Regions from separate parts of the Homo sapiens genome. Here all the other regions are linked to region 1. The links are contacts of gene promoters, found by promoter capture Hi-C in blood cells and fetal thymus (Javierre and others, 2016). All regions are on one chromosome and are shown on one strand. Each heading gives the region's core, a stretch centred on a gene start or on the middle of the fragment in contact. The rest is flanking DNA. Distances are from core to core; before and after follow the strand shown. Region 1 holds the start of TRIM14 (tripartite motif containing 14). Region 2 holds the start of GALNT12 (polypeptide N-acetylgalactosaminyltransferase 12). Region 3 overlaps ANKS6 (ankyrin repeat and sterile alpha motif domain containing 6).

Evidence for each region. The method cuts DNA at HindIII sites, captures the fragments that hold promoters and counts their contacts. A CHiCAGO score of 5 or more calls a contact.
Region 2: a fragment that was not itself captured here is called in contact with the fragment with the promoter of TRIM14 in region 1 in 2 of 17 cell types (naive CD8 T cells and megakaryocytes); the score reaches 6.7 in naive CD8 T cells.
Region 3: a contact is called between a fragment that was not itself captured here and the fragment with the promoter of TRIM14 in region 1, in 2 of 17 cell types (endothelial precursors and erythroblasts). The highest score is 6.4, in endothelial precursors.

Annotation. Positions count from the first base shown.
Region 1 is chr9:98,117,918-98,120,570 of GRCh38, forward strand. TRIM14 (tripartite motif containing 14) reads right to left here and starts at 1,305. Exons shown (of 6, transcript NM_014788.4): 1 at 1,065-1,305. The coding sequence starts at 1,271. RefSeq lists an enhancer at 779-828 and a silencer at 1,139-1,238. The HindIII fragment of the contact is 4,863 bases long and covers 1-2,653 here.
Region 2 is chr9:98,805,244-98,807,896 of GRCh38, forward strand. It overlaps GALNT12 (polypeptide N-acetylgalactosaminyltransferase 12), which reads left to right and starts at 2,427. Exons shown (of 10, transcript NM_024642.5): 1 at 2,427-2,653. The coding sequence starts at 2,456. LOC124902229 (a long non-coding RNA gene) reads right to left here and starts at 2,337. Exons shown (of 2, transcript XR_007061689.1): 1 at 1,528-2,337. RefSeq lists silencers at 2,309-2,398, 2,499-2,568. The HindIII fragment of the contact is 202 bases long and covers 1,194-1,395 here.
Region 3 is chr9:98,761,439-98,764,091 of GRCh38, forward strand. The region is part of intron 11 of ANKS6 (ankyrin repeat and sterile alpha motif domain containing 6); the gene reads right to left. Among named protein-coding and RNA genes, the nearest start is that of ANKS6, 34 kb to the right of the region's middle. The HindIII fragment of the contact is 1,517 bases long and covers 603-2,119 here.

The DNA.
Region 1 (2,653 bases), core at 55-2,554:
ATTACAGCCATTTCATACGTTAAAAAAAGGAAGGGTCTGGTGGCAGGGACAGGTCTTGAGCCCACGACTCCACTGGATTGTCCCCCATGATCCCCTTTTCACCTTGGAGTTCCAAGGTTGTCACAGTGTGGTGGTCTGGAGTCATGCAGTACCGGAGAAAGGCTCACGATGGGGCTGAATTCATCACAGAAGACTTCTTGGAGACAAGTGGTAGGATCAACAGCTGTCAGACATGAGGGCCTACCTCACCCAGGCTTCATGAAACCCAGAGAGAGAGAAGGATTTGAGAGAAGCCACAGAAAAAGTCAGCTGGGAAGCTGGAGCAGGAGCCCAGAGCCCCTGGGGCACTGTTAGGATTATGCATGGGTAAGGGTTCCACGGTGACAATGGCCCTGTTGGGGGCATCTGGCTAATGGAGTCCTGGGTTCAAGGCCTGCCCCTGCCTCCAGAGCCTTCCTCTTGTGGCCTATAAAATGGCTGTAATAATAATGGCTCACCCAGGGCTGCTATGAGCAGGAATGGGAGTGTCTGTGTGGCCGGGGAGGGGAGAGGAGGTAGGTAGTGACAGCTGAGGCTGCTCCCAGGGCAGTCAGGCCGTCCTCAGCTCAAAGTTCACAGGCCCTTTCTGTGGACTGCAGATTAAGTAAACCTGAGATGTCTGTGTGGCTTTCTGAGCTACACAGGGCTGTTTATTAAGAGGGAGAGTTTGTACCTCTGTTAACTAAAAGGCAGACTGTCTTCCAGCCCAATGGCAGTGTGGCGGATCGGCCATGGTGGACACGGTCAAGGACATCTGGGTACCAGCCTGGGCTCCCAACCTCTCACTCCTAAACCCACCTTTTCTGAAGCTCAACTGATGGCTTTGGCTCGCCTTTGCCCTTCCTTGGGTCTCAGGCTCCCGCTCTGAACTTTCGGTCGACCGCTTAGACGCCCTCTGGGGCACCTTTGGTTTCCAGGTTGTAACCCGCCACTGGCCACGGCCAGGCACGCCCCCTCCTCGGCCGTTATGCCTGGGCTGGCTCCCCCAACTCCCGCGCGGCGAACCCCGTCCCCATCGTCCCCACCTGCACGTGCACCGCTGCCTCCAGCGCCAGGCCCACAGGGTGGCCACGGTGCGCGCCCAGCACCGGGCAAAGCGCGCACACGCAGCGGCGGCAGCGGCGACAGAAGAGCTCAGCCACGCGGTCGCCATGCTCCGGGCAGCGCCAGCCGCATCCCTCGACAAGCTCCGACCTCCCAGGGGTCCGGCTCCCGGTCGCCGCGCCCGCCATTCATCTCCACCTCCTCCGGCTCCCCGGGACACAGGGCGGGGCTCCCAAGGGAAACCGAAACCTCGGCCGTGGGCGGGGCGGCTCCAGGCCGGCCGGCCGACCCCTAGGAGGATGACAGCCCGCCGGGAGCAGCGTCGGGCCTCGGAGCATCCTCCGACCAGCAGGGTGCTCCCTCTGCCCGCCCAGGCCGGGAGGTGGTCCCACCAGAAATGGGAAGCTCCTAATGAGCCAGCTAGGAGAGGGTGGGCTTCCTGCTTAATGACGCTGTTCCAGTAACGCCCAGAAAACTGCAGCCCTGATGATGGGACCAAAGTTGGCTGTGACCTTCCGGGGGTGCTCCTCTCACTTTCCCTTGATCCTCTCTTGCCCTTTTCCCCGGAAAGATAATCATTCCCACAACTGTAAGATACCTTCATCAACCTCAAATAAGGACACAGAGATTCTCCAATTGAGTTTATTTCGGACTGAGCAGAAGGATTGCAATTCGGGAATAAATGTGCCATGGCACCCAAGGGGTGGGGACGCGGAGTACTCAGGGAGGCAAAGGAAAGCAGAGGCTTTTAAAGGCAAAACGAGGAGGATTGCATATACTGTTTTTTTTGTTTGTTTGTTTGTTTTTGTTTTTTTTTTTTTTTTTTTTTTTTGGAGACGGAGTCTCGGTCTGTCGCCCAGGCTGGAGTGCAGTGGCGCCATCTCTGCTCACTGCAAGCTCCGCCTCCCGGGTTCACGCCATTCTCCTGCTTCAGCCTCCCGAGTAGCTGGAACTACAGGCGCCCGCCACCACGCCCGGCTAATTTTTTGTATTTTTAGTAGAAAAGGGGTTTCACTGTTTTAGCCAGGATGGTCTCGATCTCCTGACCCCGTGATCTGCCCGCCTCGGCCTCCCAAAGTGCTGGGATTACAGGCGTGATCCACCGCGCCCGGCCAGATCGTTTTAAAATAATAATACTTGGTTACAAGAATTAATACAGGTGGCTTCAGTCCAAAAGTTGAACAGGCAGTTGCTGGGCAGATGTCCTCATATCATGGCTTTTGTGCAAGGTTGTGGTTCTTTGTGCAAGGTTGCAGTTTGGTGGAATCTTTTGCAATAATAGTTCCTGTTACCAGGCAAATCGTTGATGAGGGCCCCCCACTTCATGGCCTCCCAGCACCATTTAGTTTGTTTGAGACAGGATCTCGCTCTGTTGCCCAGGCTGGAGTGCAATAGTGCGATCATAGCTCACTGCAGCCTCTAACTCCTGGGCTCAAGTGATCTTCCCACCTCATCTCTGGAGTAGCTGGGACTACAGGAGCACCATTTAGTTTGGTTTTGATGTAAGTGACTCTGTTTTGGTACTGACAACTTTCACACACACACCACCACCCCAAATTCCAGTTGCCCC
Region 2 (2,653 bases), core at 45-2,544, 690 kb after region 1:
GATTTCCAACAAGCTCCCAGGTGGTACCAATGCTTCTGGTCTAAATATCATACTTCACTCAGCAAGGTGCTGGACATCTTCCCTTTGCCTTACTGACACTCTCTCCACTCTGTTTTGTGCCCCGGGAGGCTGACTGTGCAGACTGTATCACTCAATCTTCTCAACAACCCTGTTCAGGTGGTGCTATCATTAGATCACCATTTAATAGATGAGCAAATTGAGCCGAGATAAGTAAAGCAACTTGCCTGAGGTCACACTGCAATTCGTGATGGGGCTGGGTTGAGCTCAGGCAAGTGGGCTCCAAGGTTGTGTTCCGACCTCCTAAGCTAAGCTGCCTTTGCATCTCATTGCAGCCTGCCCAACAGTGAGTGGTGTGGTGGGAAATCCTGGACTGTGAGTCAGGAGACCCAGATACAAATCCTCCCTCTACCGCTTGCATGTTGTGTAACCTTGGGCAAGTTGCTTCACTTCTTGAGCCTACATATTCTCATCTGTCAACCTTGCAAGGTTGTCATAGGGTGAAATGAGAAAGTACATGAAAAAGAAAGTCCAGCAGTTTACAGCACACAGTGTGTGCTCAGTAAACAATAGCTTTTATCTGTTACCTGGGGCTTAAGTCCATGTCTTGTAAGGCCTAATTGCATTTCTCTTTTCTCTGTATCTGAACCTCTATTGAGAAGCATTCCAATTTGGCAAGCGGATCCAAGACATTATGAATTGTAATCCTTGTCTGTTTTCTAATCTGACCGCAGATCTTAAATGTGTTGGGTGTCTGAACAGAGGCCAAAGGGCTCAGGTCCAGACCTACCTAACACAACCGCCTTCTGGCATTAACCAGCAGCCTCCATTCTGCGTGGGAAGCAGGCGGGGCCCTGAGCACTGTGGGAAGAGCCACTTCCCTCTAGTCTAATATTAGCAGCAGGTTGTCCTGAGTGGGAGCTGCTTTGCATGGTTCATCCCAAAACCCACCCCCCTCCTGCAACCTGAGGGAGATTTCCTCTGGGGATACCAGTAGCCAAAGGCTGTATGAAGACAACAGCAAGTCAGATTCTACCTCTACCTGAGCCGCCAAGTTCAAGGTCCTCTCCCCACCCTGTGTCTCAGACCCCGCATTTATCAATGAGATAATTGGACCAGATTTGTGCTTTTTAAACTTTCTGGGCTTCTGGTCTCCTTGAGAATATTTGATAAAAAGCTTTGGACCAACTTCCCATGGTAAAACAAACAACAACAAATAGAGCTTACACTCTATCCTTCTACAGGGGATACAGAATGATTCTTTTCCCTGAGCTAGACACCAGCAGAGGGAGTTCCAGATTAATTTAAGATATGATTTGAAATCTCTGCTATCACTTTTACATTCAGATATCTGTGTAGACATTACTTCATCAGAGAAGCTTTCCAAAACCCCCAAACTAGATCAAGTTCTACTATTCTAAGCCCTTTTAGCGCCCTGTAATTCTTCTTCAAAATACTTAACACAATTCTAATTATCTTTTTAATATTTGTCTACTCCATTAGACTTACTTCGTCCCTGGCAGCTCAAGGCTCCCACAGCAGTGATCTCATGAACAGGGCGGCAGCTTCATGGCCTTTTTTGGTTGTTGTTTAATAGAAACAGGATCTCGCTTTGTCATCCAGGCTGCAGCGCAGTGGCGCATAGTTCACGGTAACCTCCAATTCCTGGGCTCACACAATCCTCCTGCTTCAGCATCCTGAGTAGCTGGCACTATAGGCACGTGCCACCATGCATGGCTAATTCTGAAATTTTTCTGTAGAGATGGGAGTCTTGCTATGTTGACCAGTCTCGTTTTAAGCTCCTGGCTTCAAGTGATCCTCCTATCTCGGCCTGGGATTACAGGTGTGAACTATCATGTACAGCCTTCATGGCCTTTTGCTCCTAGCCTCAGAGGTCACAGAGCTATCACGAGGCGAGCCAGGCGAGGGTTTGCTATTCAAGGACTCCAAAGAGTATGGCAGAGGCTGGGCCTGCAGAAGTCAGTGGGGCAGCGTGGTGTCTGTTGATCTCATCGCACCTCCATCTCCTCATCTGTAAAAGGGAGCTCGTAATCCTAGTTGATGGTTGTTTTATTGGACTGTGTAAAGATCAGATGAGATAATGGCAGTAGAATTCATAACACCCTGCAGGGTGTATTCAGCCAACACTTAGCGCCTACAATATGCCAGGCGCTAAGGGTTTTACCACCACTATCTCTTTAATAATGCACCATAGCCCAAGAAGGAAGATGCAAGTCTCAGCCAGCCCACTTGAAGACCCTGCCGAAATGAGCCACCCCGGGGGCTGCGCTTGGGCTGGCGCGGGGCTGGACGGAAAGGGGGCGGCGCGCAGGTGGGGCGGGCCGGGGGCGGGGCGGCACGGCGGTTCCGGGATCCGGGTCCTGGCCTCCACCGCCGCCTTGGGGCGCGCAGATCGCTGGCTGCAGTTGGCGGGCGCATGTGGGGGCGCACGGCGCGGCGGCGCTGCCCGCGGGAACTGCGGCGCGGCCGGGAGGCGCTGTTGGTGCTCCTGGCGCTACTGGCGTTGGCCGGGCTGGGCTCGGTGCTGCGGGCGCAGCGTGGGGCCGGGGCCGGGGCTGCCGAGCCGGGACCCCCGCGCACCCCGCGCCCCGGGCGGCGCGAGCCGGTCATGCCG
Region 3 (2,653 bases), core at 111-2,610, 640 kb after region 1:
GATAAAAAACTTTTTCCAGATCTATGATTTGAAAATATTCTCTCCTAGTCTGTGGCATGACTTTTCATTTTCTTAATGGTATCTTTTACCAGGCAAAAGATTTGAGTTCTGATTAAGTCCAAATTTGCCAATTTTTTCTTTTATGTATCATGCTTTTGGCACTGTGAGATACACGTGGAGGTTCCTTTTCTTGCAATATGGACATCCAATTGTTCCAGCACTCTTCATTGAAAAGACTACCCTTTCTCCACTGAATTGCCTTTGTACCTTTAAAAAAAGAATTTATTTGGCTTTTCTTGTGCGGGTCTATTTTTGGGCTCTCTCTTTTGTTCCACTGATCTATTTGTCTGCCCTTTTGCTAATACCACACTGGAGCTTTATGGTAAGTCTTGAAATTAGGCAGTGTGAGCCTGCCAACTTTATTCTTTTTCATATGACTATTATAATTTTTTGTACCTCAATATAAAATTTATAATCAGTTTCTAGATCTCTACAAAAAGAGCTTGCTGGGATTTTGACTGGGATTACATTTAATCTGTAGATCAAATTGCAGAGAATTGGTATCTTCATAATCACAAGCCTTCCATCTCTTCATTTATTTAAGCTTCTTTATCAGTGTTTTGTAGTTTTTGACCTTTTGATTCCACACATATTAGATTTATACCTAAGTATTATATTATATTCCATATAATACATTTTCACATAACTTCAATTTCATACATGTTAAATGTATTATATTTTTAAAATTTCAAATTAAAAACATTCTAAATGTCCTAATGCTAAATGTTTATTACTACTGTAGAGAAATACAGCTGACTTCTGGATATTGACCCGTATTGTATCCTGAGACTTTGCTGGACTCACTTATTCATCCTAAGAGCTTTTGTGTAGATTCTTTGCAGTTTTCTATGTGGACAGTCATGTCATCTAAGAACAGATATAGTTTTGTTTCTTCCTTTCCCATCTGTATGCCTTTTATTTTTCTTGCCTTATTGTACTAGCCATAGTATTTGGTACAAAGTTGACAGTTGGAGGTAAGAGACAACATCCTTGTTCCCAGTCTTAGGAGGAAAACAATCCTTAACCATCAAGTATAATCCTGGCTATATGTGTTTTATGTCAGATTCAGGAGGTTTCCCTCAATTCCTAGTTTGTTGAGAGTTTTAATGATGAATGGATTTTAAATTTTGTTAAGTGCTTTTTCTGCATATTCTTTAGTCTGTTCATACGGTGAAGGCTAATGATTGATTTTATAATGGTGAACCAGATTTGCCTTCCTGGGATGAACCCCACTTGGTCAGAAGGTATTATACTTTGTATTTAATCATGGGATTAGATTTGCTCATATTTTGTGAAGGATTTTTATATTTATATTCATGAGGGCTACTGGTCTGTCATTTTTCTTTTCATGTTAGTCATAAAAATGCATCCTTGTTCCCAATCTTAGGAGAAAAGAAAATCTTAGGGATTTTCTATAATAATATAATAACATAGGGGTCAATTCTCCAAGACATGCAATCCTAAATGTGTACACAGCTCGTGAGGCAAAAACCAACAGAACTGAAAGGAGAAATAGACCAAACTGCAGTTATAGTTGGACACTTTAAAATTCCTCTCTCAGTAATTAGTAGAACAAGTAGAGAGAAAATCAGTAAGAATATAGAAGACATGAACAACAGTAACAACCAACTAGACTTAATTATACATTTATGGACATTTATAGAACTCCTCTCCCCCAACAATAACAACAGAATGCACTTTCTTTCCAATTGCCTATGAGAAATTCACCAAAAGAGATCACATTCTAGGGCACAAAATAGACCTCAAAACATTTAAAGGGATAGAACTAGAAACAGAACTATAATCAAATTAAACTGAAATCCCCAAAAACAGAAAGATTTCTGGAAAACTAACAAATAATTGAAAAATAAACAATACATTTCTAAATAATCAATGGGCCAAAGAGGAAATCTCAAGAGAAGGGGAAAATATTTTGAATGGAATTAAAATTAAAATATATCAAAATTTGTGGGATGTAGAAAAAGCATCACATAGAGGTAAATTTATAGCATTAAATATCTGTATTAGAAAAAAAGAAAGATCTCTAAACTGTAATCTAAGCTTCCACCATAAGGAACTAGAGAAAGAAGATAAAACCCAAAGGAAGTAGAGGGAAAGAAATTATAGATAAGAGCAGAAATCAATTAAATTGAAAACAGAAAAACAGAGAAAATCAATAAAACCAAAGTTGGTTCTTTGAAAACATCAATAAAATTGATAAACTTCTAGCCAAACTGATTAAGAAAAAAAGAGAGAAGTCACAAATTACCAATAGAGGAATGAAAAAGGAGACATTCCTACTGATCCTATGTAATAAAATAGTAATAGATACATACTACTAACAACTGTATATCCATAAATTCAACAACTTAGATAAAAGGGAATAATTCCTTGAAAGATACAAAGTACAAAAACTCACCCAAGTAGAAATAGAACACCTGAATAGTCCTATATCTATTAATGAAATTCATTCTGTAAGTTAAAACCTTCCAAAAGAGAAAACGGCAGGCCCAAATGGTTTCCCTGGCAAATTTTATCAAACATCTAAGGAAAAGGTAATAAGAATTCTACACAGTATCTTCTAGAAAACTAG